Linked DNA regions of Homo sapiens: all the other regions are linked to region 2. The links are contacts of gene promoters, found by promoter capture Hi-C in blood cells and fetal thymus (Javierre and others, 2016). All regions are on one chromosome and are shown on one strand. Each heading gives the region's core, a stretch centred on a gene start or on the middle of the fragment in contact. The rest is flanking DNA. Distances are from core to core; before and after follow the strand shown.

Region 1 (3,737 bases), core at 286-2,785, 2.3 Mb before region 2:
GGCTAGGGTAATAATAGAAATGAAAAAAATAAGTTTAGTGGAAAGAATTGACAAAACTTGTAACTTATTTAATTTGGAGGCTTAGAATAGGGGTAATAAGTGGATGAAATTAGACACCCGTTTCCTGCCCTGGATAATTGGGCAGATGATAATATCATTCATTGAGAAGGACAGCTTTGACAGAAAGATAAATTTAGTTTTGAAAGTGTTTAACTTCTTGTCCCCCTGGGGCATTTGAGTAGAAATGTCCAGTGGGAAATAGGATATGGAAGTCTGAGGCCCATGAGAGACAGTTGACTAGAATATACAGATTTTGGAATCATGCATATGTAGAACTTTGGTCCTTAATCTTTTCTTCTGTCCCATTAGTACCAGTGGGAGGTAAAGGGAGATAGAAGGAGCCATACCAAAATCTGTAGGTCTGACTTAACATAATTTTAAAAACCTTTCTCGTGCGTTTCTAAAATCTTCCTCTCCCCATCCCCACTGAGAATCACTGAAAAAGATGAATGAAGCCATGGCAGTAGATAAGAAAGTTATTTTAGGAAGGCTATGTAAAGTGAGATGAGAAAACCCAAGTATAACTACTTGACAAATGTCAGCATCAAAGTAAATGGACAGAGAAAGGAGAACTTTATAGAAAACTTAGAAATGAAGCCCAAAAGCTGCAGACAAAAGCAAGGAGTGGGGATTCCTAAAAACCCAGGGAATATAATACCTAAGATGGAAAAGAAGATGATCAACAGCCGCAAATTCTCCTGAGAGGTCCAGTAAGAGGACTGGGATGTATTCATAGGCTTAAGCAACAGGTGAGGACATGAGTGATTTTAGCACGAGCAAGTAAAGTGAAGTAATGGGAGCAACTGCCAGTTTTCAGAGGATTAGTGAGTGGGTGTTAAGGAAGCAAAGTTAGTAAGTGTGGACATTGATTAGGAAAGGGCTGTGGGAGTATGGAGAGAGATGTTGTTGCTAAAGGGAAAACTGGTTTTACGAGAGTTTCTTTTTTTTAAAATGGAGTAATTAGAGCTGTAATGTTTGAATGTTGATGGGAGGTATCAGTGTCCTGGGAAAGGTTGAAAATGGAGGAAAGCAGCAGGAGTCTAGAGCGTTGATTTGAGTCTCTGTATGTATGGCATATGTGGGTAGTCATATATCAAATATGACTTGACTGGGATGATTGGGAAAATGGTAGTTTCATTAATAGAAATGTTTAAGAAAAATAAAAGATAGACTTAATATGAAAATAATTTGAACGTTCTGCATAGTGAGTTTTGAGATACCTGTAGGATTTCCAGAGAGAACAAAGAAGTTGAAAATTTAGAATTGAGTATATGCTCTCCTCCTGCAGGAGACCATAGCTGTGGCCATGAGAGATATTGTGCTGAAACAGATCTTCAGTTCTTTTGGTTAGTTAGGTGTTTAGAAATATGTAAAAATAGGATTTTAGACAAATCAATTTTGCCATCTATAAAAAAGGAGTTTTTAAGTTACATTTTTCTATGTGGATTAAGGTTTGCATGTTTTAAACTTTGGAGTCATTTGGGAATAACAGGTTAAATGTACTATGCTCATTACATGCCATGTAAGTAAATATAAAATGTTGAAAGTAACAGACTTTTACAGCTCTTTTACACTGTATTTTAGACTTGAATCTTTTCCTTTTTTAAAGCAAGTATGCTTTCATTACATTCATATTTTATGAGTCTATTCCATATTTAAAAGCAGCTCACTTCAATCATAACTCTAACCTTTCACTTCTCAAAGATTATTGGATTAGTGTAAAGTTTTGAATCTTTTAGATTGTGCATTTGATTTCAAAACTATGAACTTAAAGCCTCAAAGTGATTATTTTCTCATTTGTGCATTGATATATATATATATATTTGTGGTGAGGGTGATGGTAGATGGGAACAATGACTTGGGTTTTATCTACAAAGAAGTGACCTACAGAATCACATTTTAATTTGGCATGTGAGAATTGATTCTTTTTCATAGTTAATTGTGAAATGAATATGTTGAAATAAGTTTGAAAAAACCCTTAGATTACTGTATTTGAATGTACAGTAATTCCCCTTTGTCTGTGGGTGATATGTTCCAAGACTCCTCGTGTGTAAAACCACAGAGTACCAAACCCTACATATACTATGCTTTTTCCTATACAGTCACACCTGTGATAAAGTTTCACTTATAAATTAGACACAGTAAGAGCTAAACAACAATGTCTAATAATAAAATGAAATAATTATAACAATATACTATAATAAAAGTTATGTGAATGGTCCCTGTCTTTCTCTGTCAAATATCTTTTTGTATTTACCCTTCTTGGGATGATAGGGGATGATAAAATGCCTACATGATGAGATCAAGTGTTGGAGCAGGATGGTGTGAGATTTTATCACACTACTCAGAACTGCAGGCAGTTTAAAACTTAGGAATTGTTTACTATTTCTGTAGTTTTCCATAATTTTGGACTGTGGTTGACTAGAGATAACTGAAATCGTAAAAATGAAACTGGATAAGGGGGAGCTACTATACATTTATTTCTATTTCTTCTAAAAAAAAAATTATATATATATATATATATTTAGACAAAAGCCAGAAATTTTCCTGTATGAGGAAGGTATCTATGATAAATAGAAAATATTAACCTATGCTTATTTTTTTCATTTTCTTTTGTTTTAAAACAGAAAAGCCTCCCAATAAAAGCAGTATGAGGATAGTAGTGGACTCAGAATCAAGGAAAAGAACCATTGGTTCTGGAGAGCCTGGAGTTCCTACAAAGAAGACTTGGTTTGATAAGTAAGGTGGCCAGGAAAATTGAGGAGTATAATTGTGCATTGATTTTCAGGATCATTTCTGTATTATTATGACAATATGGTTTGGTTTCTTCCAAAAATGTTACTCTGTTCTGTAAGCAATCCCCAAGTGTGAGTTTTCTAAAAATTGGCAAGTTAGTTGTCTGATGTTAGAAAAGCATTTTCTTACAGAAATGGTGTGGTAGTTCAGGGCATAATTTTTTCCTCTTATCATTTACCCTCCTCCAAAAAACCCACTCTTTAACTTAGACCTGTTGAATACTAGCTATATACAGGATAGTCATGAGCCTCTCATCATTAGAGGAAGGAGGTATAGATCAGACCTGTCAAGAGACTTTCATATGTAGGCAGTTCCTGCTAGGTAGGAGCTAGAAAGGGCTTTTGTGGGGGTTGGAGAGGCTGTCTAGGCATTGAATGGTCAAGAAAGAGCTTCAGATAAAGGGGTAAGGAATCAGAATGTTAAGATATGTGTGAGGTGATTCATTTATAAATAAATCTGTGAAGAGAGACTAGGATCACTTTTAGAGCTTTAACATCTACTTAATAATGGATAGTTTCTAGTTGTTTGTGATTAATTCTGTGATTTAATGCAGAGTAACCTCTCTAGGCCACAGTTTTGTCCTTTCTTCAAGTGTCAAAATGTATTCTTTATAGTTCCAACAATTCTTTTTTTCTTTTTTTAAATAAAGCGGGAAAGAGGTTGAGACTGTCATCAAAGAAAATAAAATTTAAAATCAAATTTAAAACATAAAGTTTTAAGATAGGATATTTTTTAGTAAGCTGACTTTTACAGAATCAGAATAAAGGTTATATATGCAAATTGACTAAAAGAGGATATTGAGACTTTTCCTGATAGGAATGTTAAGTAGAGGTGGATCAGAAGTGGAAAGTAACAAATGATATGGCAGAACCCTTCTCAGT
Region 2 (3,656 bases), core at 1,151-3,650:
TGATCTCAACCTCTGATTAATGTTGACATCAACAAGGATAAGTCGTATTAATAGATGTACCCTTGATATGATGTGATGAGAATGGTACTTTATACCTCTGTAGTTTTCCTTCTAAAACATCCATAGTCCCCATGTAATTATAAGAAAAAAACCTAAGACAAACCCCAATTGAGGGACGTTCTACAAAAATACTAAAGCAGTACTCCTAAAAACTGTAAAGGTCATCAAAAACGAGGAATTACAAGATGGTATTTAAGGAACTACTGCAACATAATCTAATCTATCCTGATCATTGGTGTACCAAGGCTGGGGTGGTGTGGGAATAGTCTACACCATTCTACGTGGTGGAGGGGGTACATTGTCTGTGGATAATTTAAAACAATAATAAAGAGACTAATTGTTCATCTGCTTTTTATTACCACATGCATTGGCAATTCCAAACAGGGTCAGTAATAAATTATTTTTCCCAGTTGGATCAATGTGCTCCACACTCATCCTTTCTCCCACCTACCATGCCACTGATCTTGATGATACAATTGATAAATGTAAATAAGTACTGACTGATTAAAAAATAAACGTTTTTTTTCAAAAAAAATGAGGTGAAATAAAATATTTGCCAATAACAGGGAAGAAAAGGGGTATTCAATAGGTCAAGTGTGCCAAGGTCCTTGTCTTGTTTAGGAGGAGAATAGATCATAATGGCGAAAAAAGAAAAAAAAGAACTATGATTGGAATGTGATATAACCGTAATGTGATACAATATTAACGTAATGCAACCTATGCTCATCATGTTTACTGAATTGGTTTAATGTATTTTGCTGATCATTTATACTGTTCACCCAACTTTAAATAAATGGGCCTGTATTTGACTTATTTGTTTTTCCTTAATAATTATCATTGTCCTTCTTAGAACTTCCTATTGTTCCTCATCATCCAGTCACTGAGGGACCTAAACAAATGTTGCAGCTCAGGCAAATCCACACTCTTATGCTACTAGAGGCTTTGTACAGTTTGATTCAGTGATCTGACAGCTGACAGGCCCTTAAAAAACACCGAACAAACAACACTGGCATTTCCCCACATTGAATTCATTTTATTATAGAAACAGTCTCACTCTCTCACCCAGACTGAAGTGCAGTGGTGACATCATAGGTCACTGTAACCTCCTACTCCTGGGCTCCAGCCATCCTCTCGATTCAGCCTCCTGAGTAGTAGCCGGGATTACACCAAGCTCGTCTGATTTTTTAAAATTATTACTCTTCTATTTTTTTGTAGAGACAAGAGTCTGGACATATTGCGCAGGCTGGTCTCCAATTCTTGACCACAAGCAACCCTTCTGCCTTGGCTTCCCAAAATGTTGGGATTACAGACATAAGCCTGTACCACTCCTGGCCTCACACTGAACTTCGACGTAACTTTATACATGGCTTCCTAGCTCAATTTCTTGAGAAAACGGGAAGAACGGAGAGCTCCCTGGGCACCACTGCTTTTCAGTGTCTTATACATGGGTCTGAGTGTTCTAAGACATCTTTGAATGGAAAACTACTTTCTCTCTTTTTTTTTGGAGGTGTAGAGAGGAATGGCGCATGATTCAACTTAATGATATTGCACCTAAGAATGTTTCTAACTGTAAGAAAACGCAGTATCAAAAAATCCAAACTTTAAAACAAGTCAACTAGGTAGCAGTTACAAAGATGCCTTGATTTACAAAAGGATTCACCAGAGGTTTTCTTTTCAGCAGCTTTGTAATCCTTTACTTTCCCCATTGCGTTTCAAAAGCTATTTACAAATTTCAGGACTCTATTTCATAAAGCAAATGTCGTTTTTAAAATGTAATAACTCTAATGATAAAAGCCACTTTAGAAATATTGGGAAATACAAATATTTGAAAAACAAAAACCATGTGCAATCCCAGCGTTAATACTCTCACTATTCTGGTACATTTCCTTGGCATCTTTTAAGCACCACTTATGCACATCGATGCGCGGGTCTTCGGAGACTGTATTTAACTCCTCGGTTTCAGGCATCCGGGGCGGCCACCCGCGGGCCGCGGTCCCCAGCAGGCTCCGGCGAGACTCCTTCCTTTCTTTTTTCTGCTCCACCTCCCTAAACCTTCCAGTTTCAGCCACAGATAGTCTCTTCCACATATAGCTAGCTTCAGCCCTCCCACATTCCATCTCAAAACAACAAAAAAAATCCCCTTCAAGCGGGAGTCACATCTCTGGCAGGAAGGCAGAGGCTCGTCCCACAGCAAGGAGACTGGGGCGGCCGCAGCGCGCGCTCCCGCTTGGGCGCGGCCCTACTCCCGCCGGGCTCCGCCCCCCCCCCGCCCCCTTCCCGCCCCCTTGGGCGGGGACGCGCCAGGGAAGCGCGCGGCCGCGAGCCCTGGGCGCCATTTTAGACTCGCTGTTTGTGGCCCAGGTGCAGGAAGCTTACGCGGTGGCAGCCGCTCGCTGAGGTAGTCTCTCGCGGCGCCGGGGATCCCTGAACACAGACAGCGCGGGACTGAGAAGGAAAGCTTCTTTCTGGGCAGCCAGAGCCGCAAAGGTGGAGCCGCGTTGGCGCCCTCCGCGGGACCAGCGCCTCGGATGCGGGCGGAGCGCGGGGGGCCGCGGCTGCGGGAGCGCGAAGCGGGGGGCCAGGGGCGCCTCATGTGAGAGCCGCGGGACCTGCAGCCGCCGCCGTCCCCGGAGCACGGGGTGGTGTGTGGGGGAAGCCGCCCCCGGCAGCAGGTAACGGCGGAGGGGCAGGGCCGAGCCCCGCTGCGACGGCGGAGCCGGGGAGGGACCGCGGACCGTCTGTGGGCGGGCCGGGGTGGGGTGGGGTGGGGGGGGGCGCGGGGGCCGGGGCGCGCGCGGGCCGCTCCTCAGGAGTGCCGGGCGGGGCGCGGGGCGCGGCACCCAGACCTTGGAGCTTGCTTGGGGGCGTTTCCCCGCCGTGCCTGCTTCCAAACATGTCAACAAGGCGTGGTGCGTGTGCGGCGGCCGCCTGCAGCCTGCCCGCGACGCCGCCGCTCCCGGGTTCGCCGCGGCTCCTGCCAGGCTTTATGACCCTTGGCGGGGGCTGGTGACAGGCACCATGGAGCTCGCACTCTGTGGGCTCTCCCGGCGTCGGCTACGCCCGTGCTGGTAGCTTGAGCAATGAGGCACTGAAATGTCAAAGCAAACTGCCCAGGGTGGGGCGCATGAGAAATGTCAGGGGAAGCCAGTCGGTGGGGAGGTGGCGCAGGGAGGAGGGGACGCCCCTGCCGCTTAGCCAGGCGAAAAACTTGGTCAACTTGTGTTGAGCGGATTCGCGTCTGCCTTTGGCGTGGGCAGTCCTTTAGGTGGGGTTGCAGACAGGGGTCAGGAAGCAGCCCAGTAAATGGTCTGTATCTCCAAGCTGAGAGGTGAGAGAGATCATTTTTATTTTGTCGTTGCTAATGATATCCAGTTGAGTGACCCAGATTTTTTAATTAGAATCCTCCTTTTCTAACTTGAAAAAAAAGTAACTTAGTTTCTGTTATCTCTGAAATATTTATAAAAATACCATCAACTATCAGTTATCTATCTATCTATATGACCTGTAGACAGATTTTCGCCACTGTGCGCTCTCTAAGCATTTAGTTGTGAGTTAACCTCTTTATAGTGTTTTATTCTTGTAGTTCAGCCAAAGAA
Region 3 (3,824 bases), core at 1,158-3,657, 2.3 Mb before region 2:
TGGAGCTAATGAGATTACAGTTATAATTTTTGGGGGGGATAATTAGGAAGGTATTGATAATGATATATAAAGGACTAGAATTTTGTGGGATAAAGGTTGCTGTTTGTAGAAAAATCCTCCCACACATGAGGGAAAAAAATCCAACAAACCAAAAACAGGAATAATATAATGTGTTTAGCTTTTAAATGTTCTAAACAACTATAAAGTACAGTAGAGTGTGTAGTAAGCAAAACCATGGTCAGTTAGGGTGTTAAACTTTTGAATCAAGAGACCTGGAATCTCTTCCCATTAATTAACAATTAACTTTGGGGAAGTTACTTAAATTTTCTTTTTCTTTCTTTCCCCATTTATTGAGAATGATACCAAAAACTCACAAATTCTGAGGATTCAGTATGTTGCTTAAGAAAGAGTTTATCTTGGGATTGGTTTAGTGAGTATAAGAGGAAAGTTAGTTAGCAAGAACGCTCAGGCTTTGACCATTATTTCCTTCATTTAAAGCATAGTTCAATTGAGTATAAGTTTTACTAATTCTGGGAAGTGTGAATTGTATGTAAGATTGGAAGACAGGACCACCTTTTATCTTATCAAGTACTAAAATAAATTACTCACCATACTTTTCTGTTAACCATTATGAATTGTTATGTATTCTGGGTTATATTTATTAGTATTTTAATGTTTTTTAATACCATTAGGATTTTTGGATATTTCAAAATATTTATTTGGAGGAAATACTTTTTTTTTAATTTAAAGCAATATGGTGAAATTGAAGATTGTCAGATTGATGATTCCTCACTTCATGCAGTAATTACATTCAAGACAAGAGCAGAAGCTGAAGCAGTAAGTTTTAAAAATAATTTATCAATTCAGATTTAAATGATTTATAAGTATTACTTTTAAGTTTTAATATAAATGAATTTTTTAACTTACTAAATAATATGCTTTGACAATAGGTAGAACACCTGAAGTGGAATTCATGCCCTCAAAGAATGTCCTAATGCAGTTATAAGCAATTCTGTGTGTAACATAATACAATTAAAATACATATTTAGTCACCAAGTGGAATGTCAAATTGTGCTGTCGTGAGATACCAGGGATTCTCCTTTCTTTCTTTTTCATAGTAGATAGGGCCACTCCACTACCCATTATTCTTTTTTTTCAGCTGACCCAAAACAGGATCTGCTTTGGCAGAATGAGTGGTGAGGGATAAGGTACAAGCAGTTCTAATGTCTGCCCATCTTAGCCATTCCTCATCTACTGCTTCCTGGTCTCATCAGGTTGAACTCTAAAAGAAGTGTCCCTAGTTCAGCATAGCCCCAACTAGACTTCTATGACTTTTTGCCTAAGACATGGTCTATACCTCTAACTTTGAGGGTACTCTTAGTAAAGTTACCTTAAACTATCAATCTTGAATTGTCTTTCCAAGGACTGACCGGAATATCTGCAACCTTGTCTTTCATTTGGGTTTCAAAGATTAAAAAAAAAGGAAAATGGGAGTGAGGTGTAGGGGATTCATAGGAGCCTTTTTTGCCCTGTGTGTTCTTTCTTCAGGAATTGTAGAGAAGACAGTGTCACTGTTTTGTCCTTGCCATTGTTCCAGGGATGAAATAGTTTTCCAAATGAAAGCAATGAAAGAGTGAGATGCTTTTCAGAAGTTTTAAGTTGATTTCAACTTAAATAAGTTTTGAAAAAACCTCTACATTTATTTATCCTCTTTGTAGTGAATGTTCTCTGCCAGCACAGTGGTACATTGCTTACCTGGTAGAAGTTGCCCTTGGGGCATTGTAACCATAAGACTATGGGTCTGATAAGTCATTCAACTGGAGCCTTGAAAAAATCTAGTTTTGGGGGTAGAGGTAGGGGGTAGTATATTATTTTATAAAATAGGAATTCCTGATCTTAGGGTGTTCTCTTTTTAAAGCTAGCTTTGAATAATCATTTCTTTAATGTTCTTTTGTGAAAGTAAAAAGTAATTTAAAATTGATGAGATTTTAAAACTCATAAGCTTGTATGTGTGTATGTTATATTGAAAAAGGTAGATCTTTGATTAAATGTTCTCTCCAGGGTATTGTTAAGTGCAAGTTTAGAGTAAGCTTCCTTTCAGTGGTGGCTTCAGTTGATAATTTTTAGTCTCTTGCTAGATAGGTAGTTTTATGTTTTATGTATTTTCTAGGGAATAGTGGTATTATAAAATAATGATAGTTGTTACTGTACAAATGGTTCAGATATTGCCAAATTTGTGGATTTATTAAGAACTTTAAATATGTACTACTTCCCTTGCTTGCTTATATGGCTGAGAAAAAATTAAAACCTCTTCTTAAATAATTTTTGGAAATTTTGCTCGCGGAAAGACTTTTGACACGTACCTTCTTTCTTGGGTCTTGCTTTTTGTACCTTAGGCGTGTATACAATGTATTTTTCAAAATTAATAACAATAAAAAATACCAGGGATTAATGTATAAGGAAGACTTTAGCACTGAATTACATGAAGGTTGAATAAGTGACAGAATAACTAAGGCCAAGTTAGGTCTAATGAGAATTACCTATTTAGAGGAAATAGCTTTAGTTGGATTTACTTAATAGACTAAAAAGAGTAATGACCACTGCTATGATAAATGTTTAGATTTTTAGTTACAAAAGTTGTTAAAGCATAAGCATATCCTTAAGCCAGAAAGTTTCTTAAAATTTTGTAATGTTGAAAAGAATAGAAAATTAAGTTGAAGCTTATCTTATACAAGCAGGATACATATAGAGCAGTGGTCTTCAAACTTTTGGATTTCAGGGAACAGTAAAGTTTAGGAATTTAAAAATTTGTGTGTTTGTCATAGAGGTATCAACTTTTTATTTTGCCAGGGAAGAATACTTTAAAAATACAAAAAGATTGTCATGTTCTATCACCATTGTTATATAAAATAAAGGAAATTTTAACACTGAAAATGTAGGAGAACATGAACTCGCAGTAAAGGATAGGCCTTCCCAAGAAAAAACTGTCAGCCCTTGCCAATGTTTACTGTCAAACATTACATTGTTCTTGTTTTCTGGACCATTATCCTAGATGACTGAATGAATTTATTTTCTATAATCAATAGATGCATAGTATTTCAAGATGAAAGTACAAGAATAAATAAGGTAATTGAGACATTCAGATATAACTGAAAAGTGAGAAGTTTTCCTCAGGAAAAATATTGAAGCATTTTAAAGACCATCAGTATAAGCAGAACACTGTTAGCTTTAGGTTAAGATGGTTTATGGTTTGACTCTGCCTTGTTACCTAGAAGATGGTTCCTATTACCTTATTTTCTATTTTTTTGTCTATCACCATGCCAAAGTACTAAAGTTGGATAAGTACTCAGACAAGAGTAAAGCAGTCGTCTCTTCCATGACTGATTTGAATATTATCTTTTCTGCACTGAATTGTTACTGTACCTTTGTAGGAGCCCAAGATCCTGTTCAGAATAGGAATAATTAAGTTGCTGTTTTAGAAGAATCAGAACAAAAATGAAACCTATAGTCCCAAACTCACAGAGGTACAATTTTTTTTTTTTTTTGAGGCGGAGTCTCGCTGTGTTGCCCAGGCTGGAGTGCAGTGGTGTGATCTCAGCTCACTGCAAGCTCCGCCTCTCTTGGCTTCATGCCATTCTCCTGCCTCAGCCTCCCGAGTAGCTGGGACTAGAGGTGCCTGCCACCACGCCCAGTTAATTTTTTTTTTTTTTTTTTTTGTATTTTTAGTAGAGACAGGGTTTCACCATGTTAGCCAGGATGGTCTCGATCTCCTGACCTCGTGATCCACCTGCCTCAGCATCCCAAAGTGCTGGGGTTACAGGCAT

Evidence for each region. Contacts are between HindIII fragments. The CHiCAGO score rates a contact against its expected background, and 5 or more counts as called.
Region 1: a contact is called between a fragment that was not itself captured here and the fragment with the promoter of FBXL3 in region 2, in 2 of 17 cell types (total B cells and monocytes). The highest score is 8.0, in total B cells.
Region 3: a fragment that was not itself captured here is called in contact with the fragment with the promoter of FBXL3 in region 2 in 1 of 17 cell types (total B cells); the score reaches 14.4 in total B cells.

What each region holds. Positions count from the first base shown.
Region 1 is chr13:79,358,637-79,362,373 of GRCh38, reverse strand. RBM26 (RNA binding motif protein 26) reads left to right here. Exons shown (of 22, transcript NM_001366735.2): 10 at 2,688-2,799. Among named protein-coding and RNA genes, the nearest start is that of RBM26, 46 kb to the left of the region's middle. The HindIII fragment of the contact is 4,955 bases long and covers 1-3,737 here.
Region 2 is chr13:77,025,903-77,029,558 of GRCh38, reverse strand. It overlaps FBXL3 (F-box and leucine rich repeat protein 3), which reads left to right and starts at 2,400. Exons shown (of 5, transcript NM_012158.4): 1 at 2,400-2,732. RefSeq lists silencers at 2,280-2,329, 2,500-2,779, 2,800-2,859. The HindIII fragment of the contact is 14,791 bases long and covers 1-2,433 here.
Region 3 is chr13:79,331,357-79,335,180 of GRCh38, reverse strand. RBM26 (RNA binding motif protein 26) reads left to right here. Exons shown (of 22, transcript NM_001366735.2): 20 at 751-837. Among named protein-coding and RNA genes, the nearest start is that of RBM26, 73 kb to the left of the region's middle. RefSeq lists an enhancer at 3,509-3,824. The HindIII fragment of the contact is 630 bases long and covers 2,093-2,722 here.